4 separate regions of the Homo sapiens genome follow, and all the other regions are linked to region 4. The links are contacts of gene promoters, found by promoter capture Hi-C in blood cells and fetal thymus (Javierre and others, 2016). All regions are on one chromosome and are shown on one strand. The core of a region is centred on a gene start or on the middle of the fragment in contact, and the rest is flanking DNA. Distances in the headings are between cores, read along the strand shown. Region 1 overlaps OXSR1 (oxidative stress responsive kinase 1). Region 2 has its middle 7.8 kb from the start of MYD88. Region 3 overlaps ACVR2B (activin A receptor type 2B). Region 4 holds the start of GORASP1 (golgi reassembly stacking protein 1).

Region 1 (2,700 bases), core at 42-2,541, 930 kb before region 4:
AATCTAGAAAAAAGGGTTTGGGATCATTTAAATTTTGTTTTCAAAGGATTGTATTCTAGAGAAATCAGTGTAATGGTGTCATCTCCATCAAAACACGTACATTTATTTGAACTGTAACATGTTTATTTGAACTGTAATTTTTTTCACATTTGCTTCTCAGCAGTATACTATTTATGGGATTGTTTCTCACATTCTGTTTTGTTCTTCGTCTTTCTGGTAAAATCCTACAGAGAACAGAATCTCCTCTTAGGAACATATTAAAAGCCTATAGATTGAAAATTCAAAGGACTTTTTTTTTTTTTTAAAGAATTGTATCACCTTAAGCATGCTTTGGCAAGATTTGAAGTTCTTTAAGTATGATTATGTGTAAAAGATGTTAGTATCATTCTCACAATTAATCATTGATCTTTCAGTATTTTTGAGCCCTTAGTCTTAGATTAGAATTTCTGAGCATGTGTTATACTGTATTTGGCATGTGTTGAAGCAGCTGTAAAAATTTGGGCTTTGGGGTTAGACTGACCCAGATTCAAATCCTGACATTGCCTCTTACTAGTTATGTGATCTTAGACAAATTATATGATTAGTTTCCGTGTCAGCTTTTTGTCTGTATAGTGGGGAGAATAGTACCTATGTCACTGGGGCCGTTATATAGATTGAGTGTAATTATTTGTGGGAAGTGTTTAGCTTGTATAAAATGATAGTTGTTATTATCTCTGACTTTTTTTTACCCTTCCCCTTGTCCTCATATTTCCCAATTTTTGGTATTGCCATGAAATATGAAATACTATGTGATGTGAAAGCTTGTGACACTTAAAATAGTTTGAATCTGTTTTTAATGCTTAGTGGAACATTATTGCATTTATTTTATTTTCGCATCTTTTTTTTTCTTAGTCCAGGCCTCATTCAGGTTTAGATGGATTTAGGGATTTATGTTGGACATCGTAGTATAACTGTAAGGACCATCACCATGATATTGCTAATAATACAATATGATGGCAGAGAGGGCTGTGCCAGTTAGGTTTTATTGCCCTGCATCTTGAAAAGTCTCAATAAGTATTTACTATTTACCTCAGACTAGAAAATTGAAAACTTAATACTAGGTTTAAGGTGTGATTCACCTAGCTTTGACACTTTGAAGGCAGTGCAATATATTTCTATTCTTGACTTTCCCTTCTTTTTATTTTCATTGATTGTTTACTAGCCACACATTTTGAGTTTAAAGTTGTGGTTTTCAAATACAGATTCCAGGGCCTTACCTTTAGCGCCTCCATAAATGTGAAGGACTTCGTGCTTTCAATAGAGTGGTGCTTAATAGTGTATTTTTCCATTGATTGGGAGACTCAGCTAAGGTGACATTTTCTATGAGGCCAGCATTGGGCCAACAACCTCATAGTGTTGTATCAAATAAGGCTTACATTTCTCTGCATGTGGGGAAAATGGAAATAATAGTGGCTTAATAAAATCCTTTTTCCCCCTTATATAACAAGAAGACTGGAGGTGGCAGCCTAGGTGCTGTCAGGCACCCAGGCTCCTAGTTTTTTCATGCGACCACACTTAGCAGGTGACTCTCCTTCTCATAGTTGGAAGATGGTTGTTCCACCTCTAGACTCATGCTTGTGTTCTTGTCCAGAAGAATATGGCAAAAGGACAAAGACACATGACAGCTGAGTTGGTTCTCTTTTAAAAGGCTTTCTTTCCTAGATGCCTTACTCAGTGACTTCCACTTCTATTTTACTGGCCAGAACTGTATAATTTGGTCATTTGCAAGGCAGACTGCAAAATGAAGCTTTAGCTGGACACATTATTACTTCAAACAAAATAGGTCAGGATTATCTTACTAAAGAAGGGGAAATTGTATGTTTGCTAAGCAACTAAGAATATTGGCCTCATTTTTTTTTAAAATGAAAATAGTCAAATAGGGTATTGCAAGTAAATAATTTAACCTGATGCATAGTAATCAGTTAATAAATGTTAGCTTTAATCTGAAGAGGTAGTTGCCTACTGATTAAGAGCATAATGTTGAAACTCAGGTAGTTCTTATTTCTAGGCCCTACTCTGCCTAACTAACTGTATGACCTAAGTTTTACCTTAATTACATTGCTTTACTTACATTGTCTTGTAAGACCATGAATACCTATCACATGGAATTATTGTAATGATTAGATGAAAAGAAGAAATGTAAGTAAAGAAAGTGCTCAGCATAGACTTGGCACACAGAATGGATGCTCAGTGAATGTTAATGTACATGATGGTAACGATGAAATAACACCCATGAAGACTGGGCTATTTCTGTGTGTGTTCTGCCCCAAACAAGATTTTTTTTCCTTGAAAATATACCCCACTATGTGATTAATTCATTCAGCAAATATTTCTTGAACTCCTGTTATGTGCCAGGCACTGTTCTGGATGCTGGAGATAAAACAATGAAGCAAACACAAAAAATGCCTGCTTTCACAGAGTTTATAATCTAGAAACTCTAAAGAAGAAAAAGCAGGGAAAGGGGTTAGGGACTGCTAGGGGTGGAGGTGGGGTTTCAGTTTTAGGTCAGGGAAAACCTCACTGAGAAGATGACAGTTGAGGAAAGACCTGAAGAAGGTGAAGAAGTGAATGATGTGGTTATCTGCAGGAAGTTTGTTCCAAGCAGAGGACAACAAGAACAAAGGTTCTGAAGCAGAAGCATGCTAATGTGATTAAGGAATG
Region 2 (2,700 bases), core at 181-2,680, 960 kb before region 4:
TCAACAGATGAATGGGTAAATGAAATGTGGTATATATGTACAAAAGATTATTACTTAGCTTTAAAAATGAAAGACATTCTGACATATGCTGCAACATCAAATAACTTTGATGATATTATGCTAAGTGAAATAAGACAGGCTGGGCACAGCGGCTCATGCCTGTAATCCCAGCACTTTGGGAGGCTGAGGCGGGTGGATCATTTGAGGTCAGGAGTTCAAGACCAGCCTGGCACACATGGTGAAACCCTGTCTCTACAAAAAATACAAAAATTAGCCAGGCATGGTGGTGCATTCCTGTAATCCCAGCTACTTGGGTAGCTGAGGCAGGAGAATCGCTTGAACCCGGAAGGTTGAGGTTTCAGTGAGCTGAGATCATGCCATTGCGCTAACAGAGCAAGACTCTGTCTCAAAAAAAAAAAAAAATTCACACAGCAGAACACTGGGCTGGTAAGGGTGGAAGATGAGGGGCCGCACCATCAATTTAGGGGAACATTGTCCCCACTGGCTGCTATTTGCCAGATGATACAGAATAAATGTTTTAAATGCCCTTGGGGATGTCTGGTTCTGAGACAATATAGAGTAAAAACACTTCTCCTTATTCCCTCTGCTAAATACAGGCAAAACACCCTGGACATTATATAAAACACAAATATAAGGAGACTCTGAAAGGTGGAGAGAAGAAGATAGAATGGTTAGGGACCTCAGGACCTATGGAATGACATGGCACTAGCCTAGGGTTTTCTTTTTGCCTATGCCTAATGGATCTCAGACTGAGTATGGAGAAGGCAGAAACCTATAAACTAATGAGTACAGGTAAAGGAAAAAAAAGAAAAAAAAAAAAGGAAAACCTGCTTTTACTAGCCAAACGACCAGAAAGGGACAGTCTTGCAAGAAAGAAAGTTTGTAGACAATAACCACTCCAGCTAAACCATAGAAAAAATTGTAGTATTACCTACACCCTGCCAGCAAAGGCAAAATGGGGAATCTAAATTTCCACTCCCACCTTCTTGGGTGTCAGAGTGGGTCTAGTAGAGAGTCAAGACTTTCACCACTGCCCAGCAGTAATGTCCTCTATCATGTCAGTGGAGGCCAGATGGGGAGTAGTAACAAGGCATCCTTCTCCCTCCCAGCCAAGGTGGTATCAGGGGAGACTTAGTGGGCAGCCTGAACTCTCATCCTGACCCAGCAGTAACTAGGCACTCTCTCCCTTGTTCTCCCTCACCTCTACCCTGGGATGTCAATAGAGTAACCTGCACTTCTACCTCCACCAGACAGCATTGTTTTGATGTCAAAGAAGGCTAACTAAAACAGAAGATCCAAATGAGATCCAGCCTCATTACATAGCATCCAAAATGTCTAAGGTTGAAAATCAGTCATCATACCAAGAACTAGGGAAATCTCAACTTGAGCAAGAAAAGACAACCAACAGATGCTAACACCAAAATGACACAGATGTCAAAATTTTCTGACAAGAACTTTAAAGCAGCCAGTATAAAAATGCTTCAATAAGTAATTGTAAACATGCTTGAAACAAATTTTTTTAAGTTTCAGAAAAGAAATAGAAGATATAAACAATTAAATTGAAACGTTAGCACTGAAAAAAAAAAAAGAAAAAACTTACTGGATGGGTTCTGTTGTAAGATGTCGATAGCAAAGAATCAGTGAACTTGAAGACAAACCAATAGGAACCACCCAATCTGAACAAAAGACAGAAAATAGACTGGAAAAAAATTAAGTCTCAGGAATTTGTGGGACAACAAAAAAAGTCTAACATGTATGTCATCAGAGTCCCAAAAGGAGAGGAAAAATAAGTTGGAGCTAAAAGGGTATACAAATAAATATGGTTGAAAATTTGCCCAATATGGAAAAAAAAACAACCCATAAACCTATAGAGCTGATAAGGTGAGCAAACCCCAACCATTATAAACCCCAAGAAATCCACACCAAGGTACATCATAGTCTAACCTCTGAGAATTAAAGACAAAGAAACAAATATTGCAAGCAGCCAGAGAGAAATGATGCCTTACCAATAATGAACAAATTTTTGAATGGCAGCAGATTTCTTTCATTGGAAGCCACAGAGGTCAGAAGACATTGGCCCAACATTTTTCAAAGACTGAAAAAAAAAACTGTCAACTCAAAATTCTATATCCAGTTAAAATATTATTCAGGAATGAGGAGGAAATCAAGACATTCTCAGTTGAAGAAAAACTATGAGAATTTGTCAACAGCAGGCCTACCCTAAAAGAATAGCCGAAGGAAGTTTTTGAAACAGAAAGAAATACAAGAAAAAAATCTTGGAATACTAAGAAAGAAAAACAAGAGAAACAGTAAAAATATGAGTAAATTGAGTACGCTTTAATTTTCTTAAATTGTCAAAATTATATCTGATGGTTTAAGCAAAAGATTAGTTTAGTGGTCATGCGCAAGATAGATTACGGAAGTTGATAAGCACAGTGGTAATTTCTGCTTCAGGCAATTTCACAAACAAAAAAGAGAAATGAAATGACTACTGGCTGGGAGAAGAAACTCTGGGATCCCCACAATTTCCTCTTTCCTCAAAATATGTAATCCATCAGGTTACCTCCTCTCCTAAACACTCTATGCATTGTCTGATGTAGTTTTCAACTTATGTACAGGAAATATTTGGGACAGCTATAAATGAGGGAGAGTCAAGGCACTTAAAGCAAGGAAAGGTGT
Region 3 (2,700 bases), core at 195-2,694, 620 kb before region 4:
ATATAATGAATAATTAAGTTAATTTCTGGTATGCATAATGGCCAGTCCTGAGGCCCAGCTGAAGACCTGTCCCCCAGACCCTGCCCGCTGGCTTCAGGCTGCTGCTTCTAGACAGAGGTGCACTGGACGGGATAGTTTTATCAAGAGAATCCCTAATGTGTCATTTTAAACCAGCTGTGCTTTTTATTCATTCTGGTTGAGCGTATAGGTTTACACTTTACCCTTTTTATACTTGGAATAAATTTAGTTCCAGCAGATCTAGTAGCACTCCAGAAACCAACCCCATCTGTTCCCCATAAAAAGAACATTTTCTCTGCTCTCCAGCCACGTGTCTTGGAATGTAATTCTGTTGTGCCTTTGTTTTTATCACTCTCTTCGCCCCAAAAGCAACTGCTGTAAGCTTTTTTCTACTTGTCTTTTCTAGTCCCCAACCTCTACCTTTTTCCTTTTTCCCAGCCCTAATTTCTGGATGCACTTCTGTGATCCAGGTATTTTAAGAACCAGTTACCTCAGACCTCATGTTGAACAGTGTCGCCATCTGGGTCCTCTTGATACTGCAGACTTTTAACGTACACATGCAGGAACCCTGCTGAGCGTGGGCACTTGTTTTAAAGCAAAACTCTTCCCAAGGACTGAAGAAAGGGCTTCTGGCAAGCTCGTCATGGCATTGTGGTGGGATGGGTCTAGAGTGTCATCTGAATGGTGCTTCCTGTGTTCCTCTTTGAATTCTGCCATTTTCAGTATTCTTGTGTGTCTGAATAGGCAAAGCGATTTAATTGGCTGGTCTTGCACGCAAATTAGTTCCAAAGATAAGCTCTTTGTAACACATTTCCAGTCGCTAATGCTCAAATGTAGAACATTCCTTTAAATGGCAGGATAAAAAACCCACTATCCACCATAGTGCATTTTGGGAAGATGTCTGTAGCATATGTTGCTGTGAAATTAGGCCTTGTGGGATATGGCTGTTTGTCATTTTGATGTATTTTAAATAAATATATATATTTTTTAAAGAGCCTTTTTTACCAGTTCAAAAAGTTTAATTAACCAGCAGTCACCGCATCTGAATTTTTGTCTCTGGGGCATAGATGGCAGACCAAGATTAAAAGTGGTAACTCAGCTATACGAGCATGGGCTACCTTCCTGGGCTCTCCTGCAGTCCTGTAGACCTGCTGTTCCGCAGACCATGGGACACAAGGTCAGTGTGTTCCCAGTGAGGGTCCCAAGTCAGTCATCTTAAGTGTTTGTTCTCTGCCCCATTCAGTGGACTGTTGACTTCAGTCCCTGCAAGTGCTTTAGCCCGAGTGGGGTTTTCTCAGAGCACTGCCACGAGTTAAGTGTGTGTTTAGCCAAATAATTTCTCCGTAAGGGAAAAATGCAGTCACCCAAATTTTACCAACAATGACAGAGATGAGAGTAGAAAAGATTAGGCAACATCTGAGTTTTAACTTGAAAAGTGTCCAAGTCATCATGAAAGGCCGACTGGGAGCAAGTGATTATTAGAGATTCTTCAGGAGACCTCATCTGAAAATGTTAAGACTGCCAGTGAGGGAAGGAATTGTTAAAATGCCAGCGGCTTTTTTTTCCTCTTTTTTTCTGTAATTCTGTAAAAATGCAGAGAAAGTTGAGTGGTACTTCAGAATTGAGGGAGAGGGTTACCGCAGAGTAGAAATATATTTCTAGATTTCAGTTCCACACCACAAATCCACAACAATGCCATTTTTCAACTGTACAAAAATCTGCTTATGAACTGGACATGATCTTAATGGTAGTGTCAAAGGCCAAGTTTTTCACCTGTTAATATTTTTCCACATTTGTCCTTGAATCTGAATAACTTTATACAGTACTGTAAATTTAACTTACATCGAGTTTGTTGTCAATTCTTATGAAAAGAGCTTTCTGCATGTAACACATACGGTTAAAGAACACAGCAAAGGACAAAATTTGCAGGAACAGTTTTGGAACCAACAGAAAATGTCACCTTTTATTTGCCATCTTATATATATCTATCAGTTTTACCAGCTACTTCTAAATTTGTACATTATTTGTAAGGGAAAGAAGGAAAACCCTAAGACTTGTCTAACTTAGTGGAGAATGTGTGTGTTGGGCTTAGGATGGATAGCTAAGTCTTATTGAGCTGTGTTACCTAACTTGTATATAAAAATTGTAATTAAAAGTTTGGGTTCACCTGTTTCTCACAGTTTAAAATGATGAGTAATTGCAAACTCTGGAAATGTGACTAGTATATGATTTAAGGCTGTAGAAGCAAGGAAGCTCTTTCAAGTGCTAAAACTAAAGACTTCTAGTTTTTGGCTCAAATAAGTACTGTTTGTATACCAGGATATGTGAGATGTAAATGTAGTAGGTCACTTTTCACCCTTGTAGCTATAAAATAAAAATTTTGTAGAACAGAAATAGCTTGTACTACTGAATTAACAAAAGTTATACTAAAGTATCATGTTTAAAAAAAATATATATATATATACAGAGTTAAGCTTGTTGCTGTTACCCTGTCTGGATTTGAAAAGTGTGCTGATTTATATATATATATTACACACACACACACACACACACACACACACACACACACACACACACACACACACACACACACACACACACACATACACCTAAAATGGCCTAAAGCAGACATCCATGTAATTACAGTTGCAAAATGAAAACATTTTGGAAAGAACATTGTAT
Region 4 (2,700 bases), core at 55-2,554:
CTCCCATCATCGCCCCACCCCTCCTCTTGCCAATATCCTGAGTTCCTTTGCCTTTAATCAAACCTGTTGGAAGACGCTCCTGGCTGGATGCATTCCACTGTCCACGCTTGCTGTTTGGTGTCTCACCATAAGAAAGCCCATTCCCAAGCACAAATCCTGTCAACTCTGGGTTCTCCAAGCCAGCCTGGTTTTCACGTTAAGAAACTTTTAGCCCTCTCATGTGGTTAGCTGGCAACAGACCCTACCTTCAAAACACACAAACCGACAAGCTTGCCTGTCTCCACTCATCTCTGCATCCAGCTGCCTTTCACTAGGGAAAGGGGGGGTGCAGGGACGCCTCTTCCCCGCAGCGCTCCGGGGTCAGAGACCCCCAGCCCCTCTCACCTACATTATAGCCCTTCCCTCACCGCAGGCACAAATCTCCATCCGGCTGCGGGACCCTCTCCTCACCCTCACAGCACACTCCGTTCTAGGAACCCCACTCCGTCTCCACTCTCCGGAAGCCTGCTCGCCCAGACCTCCATGTAGCGGCATCTAAAGGCTGGGACCCTCCCCAGCTGCAAACGCTCTCCTCGAGGATTCTGCAGCACTCTCCCGGCCCTCCCGCTCCCCACTATCCCGTGGCTGGTTTGCACCGGTCCTCTACCCTCGGAAGCCCTTACGACCCTACGACTGGCAGGACGCGCGCCGACGGGCTCCCCCGCAGCTGCGTCCACTCGGTTAACCCCGGCCCCCGGGACTGTCCTCGGCGTGGCTGACTCTCTTCCCAGGCCCAGCACGGAGAGCGGCCCGCGGCAGGCGAGCGTAAATGTGTGCTAAGTGCACGAGTGCGTCCCGACTGGTAGTGGTGCATTCTTCACCCGGGAGGAGCGCCATTCCCGGCGGCCGGACCAGGAAAACGCTCCGCTTCCGGCACTGCTGGCACTTGGGGCGGGCGCTGGGCCCGACCGCGGCCGCGGACTAGCCAGGGTCCGGGAGTCCCGCGAGGCCGCCTCTCCCAGGAGGCTCCCACCGGGCAGGGGGCACCTCCCGCCACCCAGGCGGAAACACTCGGGCCGGGACCCCGCCGCAGTCGCCAGCCAGCCGGCGACCGGACGCCCGGGCGCGGGGTTGCGGGCGCCTCGCCAAGGTCACCGGCGCCGCGGCGGCAACTCACCCCGTGGAGGTGGAAGCCCTCGGCGCCGCCTGCGGGCTGCTCAGCGCTGACGCCCAGGCCCATGGCAGCGGCTCCGCTCGGCACCCAGGTCCAGTCCCGCTGCGCCTACCCGGACCGACCCGACGCCAGTAGCACCGACTCGCTCTCTCGGCGCTCGATTCCTGCGCCTTGTGACGTGAGGCGTTTTGTTCCTCCCACTCCAGACACTGGACGCTCCTAGCAACCGGCTAGCAGCTCGGTTTCCAAGGACTGTAACGCCTTCAACCGCCCGCCGCGATAGAGTGCCCACGACCCTGCCTCGGGAATCCCGCTCTGCACCGCCCCACCAGACCCGGACTCGGAGCCGCGAGCGGCCCGAGATGAGCAGCAATGACTCCTCCCTTATGGTGCGTGGCCCGGGCGCTGTCCGAGGGCTCCCTCGTGACTCCCCGCCCCTGACCCAGAGACCGTCTGCCCTGCTACTCTCCTGCCACCCTTCGCTGTCCTCAGTTATATCAGGCGGTCCTGCCTTTTCTTGCCCCACTCCCCCTGGCAAGGGCGTCTTCTCCGGTGGCTTCTGCGCACCCTGAGCCCCAAATTAGCATCCCCGTTTCTTGAGCTACCCCAAACCAGCTCATCCAATCACTATCATTATCCCTTCTTGTCATCATCCCTTCTTCCACCCAGCTCACTCTCGCCTGCGCCTCCCACCCCAGTTGATGGCTTCACCATTTAATCTCCTAGCCTTAACTCATACCTCTTCCCTATACTCATCTTCTAATCCTGTCTACAAGAAATGCCAGCTCCTTGATGTCTCCTGGGTTTTCTTTTTATCTTTTTATCTTCTAGCCCAGAACCAGCACCATCTCTCCCCCCTGAGAGCCTGCAACAGCCTCCCTCCCATCTGGTTTCTCTGCTGTGGCTCTTTTCAGCATCAGTAGTCCCTGCTGCCACCACGGCACACACCCCCCACATGCAAAAGCAGCCAGAGTGGTTGTTGCAAAAATGTACATCTGAAAACATCCCTCGCCTTAAAACCATTCTGCTTTCTGTTACCCTTAGGATGGTGTCTGGGCTCTTTCATATGGCCCATGAGGATGTTTACAGTCCAACCACATCTGCTCCCAACCTAGCACCCACAAACCTTAGAGGAAGTGAAACTTAACTTTAAAATCTCAGCCCCTTTGTCAAGCTGTAGTTTCCATGGGCTTAAGCTTCCTTAGCTGTGAAAGATACTGAGAGGACCATGCACAGGATAGTGGATATGAAGCCCACAATAACTTGTAACTACAATTCGTATAATTTTTCTTATTATTTGTCCTCATTTTTCCCCCCTTATTCCCTTCCTAAGACAAAGCCTTGGTTGAATTCCCCATCATAGTTGAACCAGAATCTGTTGGTAATCCCCCAAACAAACACCTCCAAACTCTTTCCTGGGAAAACTGCATGGAGCTGCTCCCAGGGCTGTTAGAGGACAGGATGAGGCCTGAATGTTTCCTCTTTCTCTTCCCTTTGCAGAACTGAGGAGGAGCAGGGGATAGGGAAGGGAGCAGGTCTCATCCCAT

The links. The method cuts DNA at HindIII sites, captures the fragments that hold promoters and counts their contacts. A CHiCAGO score of 5 or more calls a contact.
Region 1: a fragment that was not itself captured here is called in contact with the fragment with the promoter of GORASP1 in region 4 in 1 of 17 cell types (activated CD4 T cells); the score reaches 5.2 in activated CD4 T cells.
Region 2: a contact is called between a fragment that was not itself captured here and the fragment with the promoter of GORASP1 in region 4, in 1 of 17 cell types (total B cells). The highest score is 7.3, in total B cells.
Region 3: a contact is called between a fragment that was not itself captured here and the fragment with the promoter of GORASP1 in region 4, in 1 of 17 cell types (monocytes). The highest score is 6.5, in monocytes.

Annotation. Positions count from the first base shown.
Region 1 is chr3:38,171,378-38,174,077 of GRCh38, forward strand. The region is part of intron 1 of OXSR1 (oxidative stress responsive kinase 1); the gene reads left to right. Among named protein-coding and RNA genes, the nearest start is that of OXSR1, 7.2 kb to the left of the region's middle. The HindIII fragment of the contact is 986 bases long and covers 799-1,784 here.
Region 2 is chr3:38,145,146-38,147,845 of GRCh38, forward strand. No RefSeq gene overlaps it. Among named protein-coding and RNA genes, the nearest start is that of MYD88, 7.8 kb to the left of the region's middle. The HindIII fragment of the contact is 5,277 bases long and covers 1-2,700 here.
Region 3 is chr3:38,490,183-38,492,882 of GRCh38, forward strand. It overlaps ACVR2B (activin A receptor type 2B), which reads left to right. Exons shown (of 11, transcript NM_001106.4): 11 at 1-2,700. Among named protein-coding and RNA genes, the nearest start is that of EXOG, 4.8 kb to the right of the region's middle. The HindIII fragment of the contact is 2,092 bases long and covers 399-2,490 here.
Region 4 is chr3:39,106,323-39,109,022 of GRCh38, forward strand. GORASP1 (golgi reassembly stacking protein 1) reads right to left here and starts at 1,305. Exons shown (of 9, transcript NM_031899.4): 1 at 1,157-1,305. The coding sequence starts at 1,219. TTC21A (tetratricopeptide repeat domain 21A) reads left to right here and starts at 1,358. Exons shown (of 29, transcript NM_001366900.1): 1 at 1,358-1,542. The coding sequence starts at 1,516. RefSeq lists a silencer at 935-1,254. The HindIII fragment of the contact is 2,080 bases long and covers 268-2,347 here.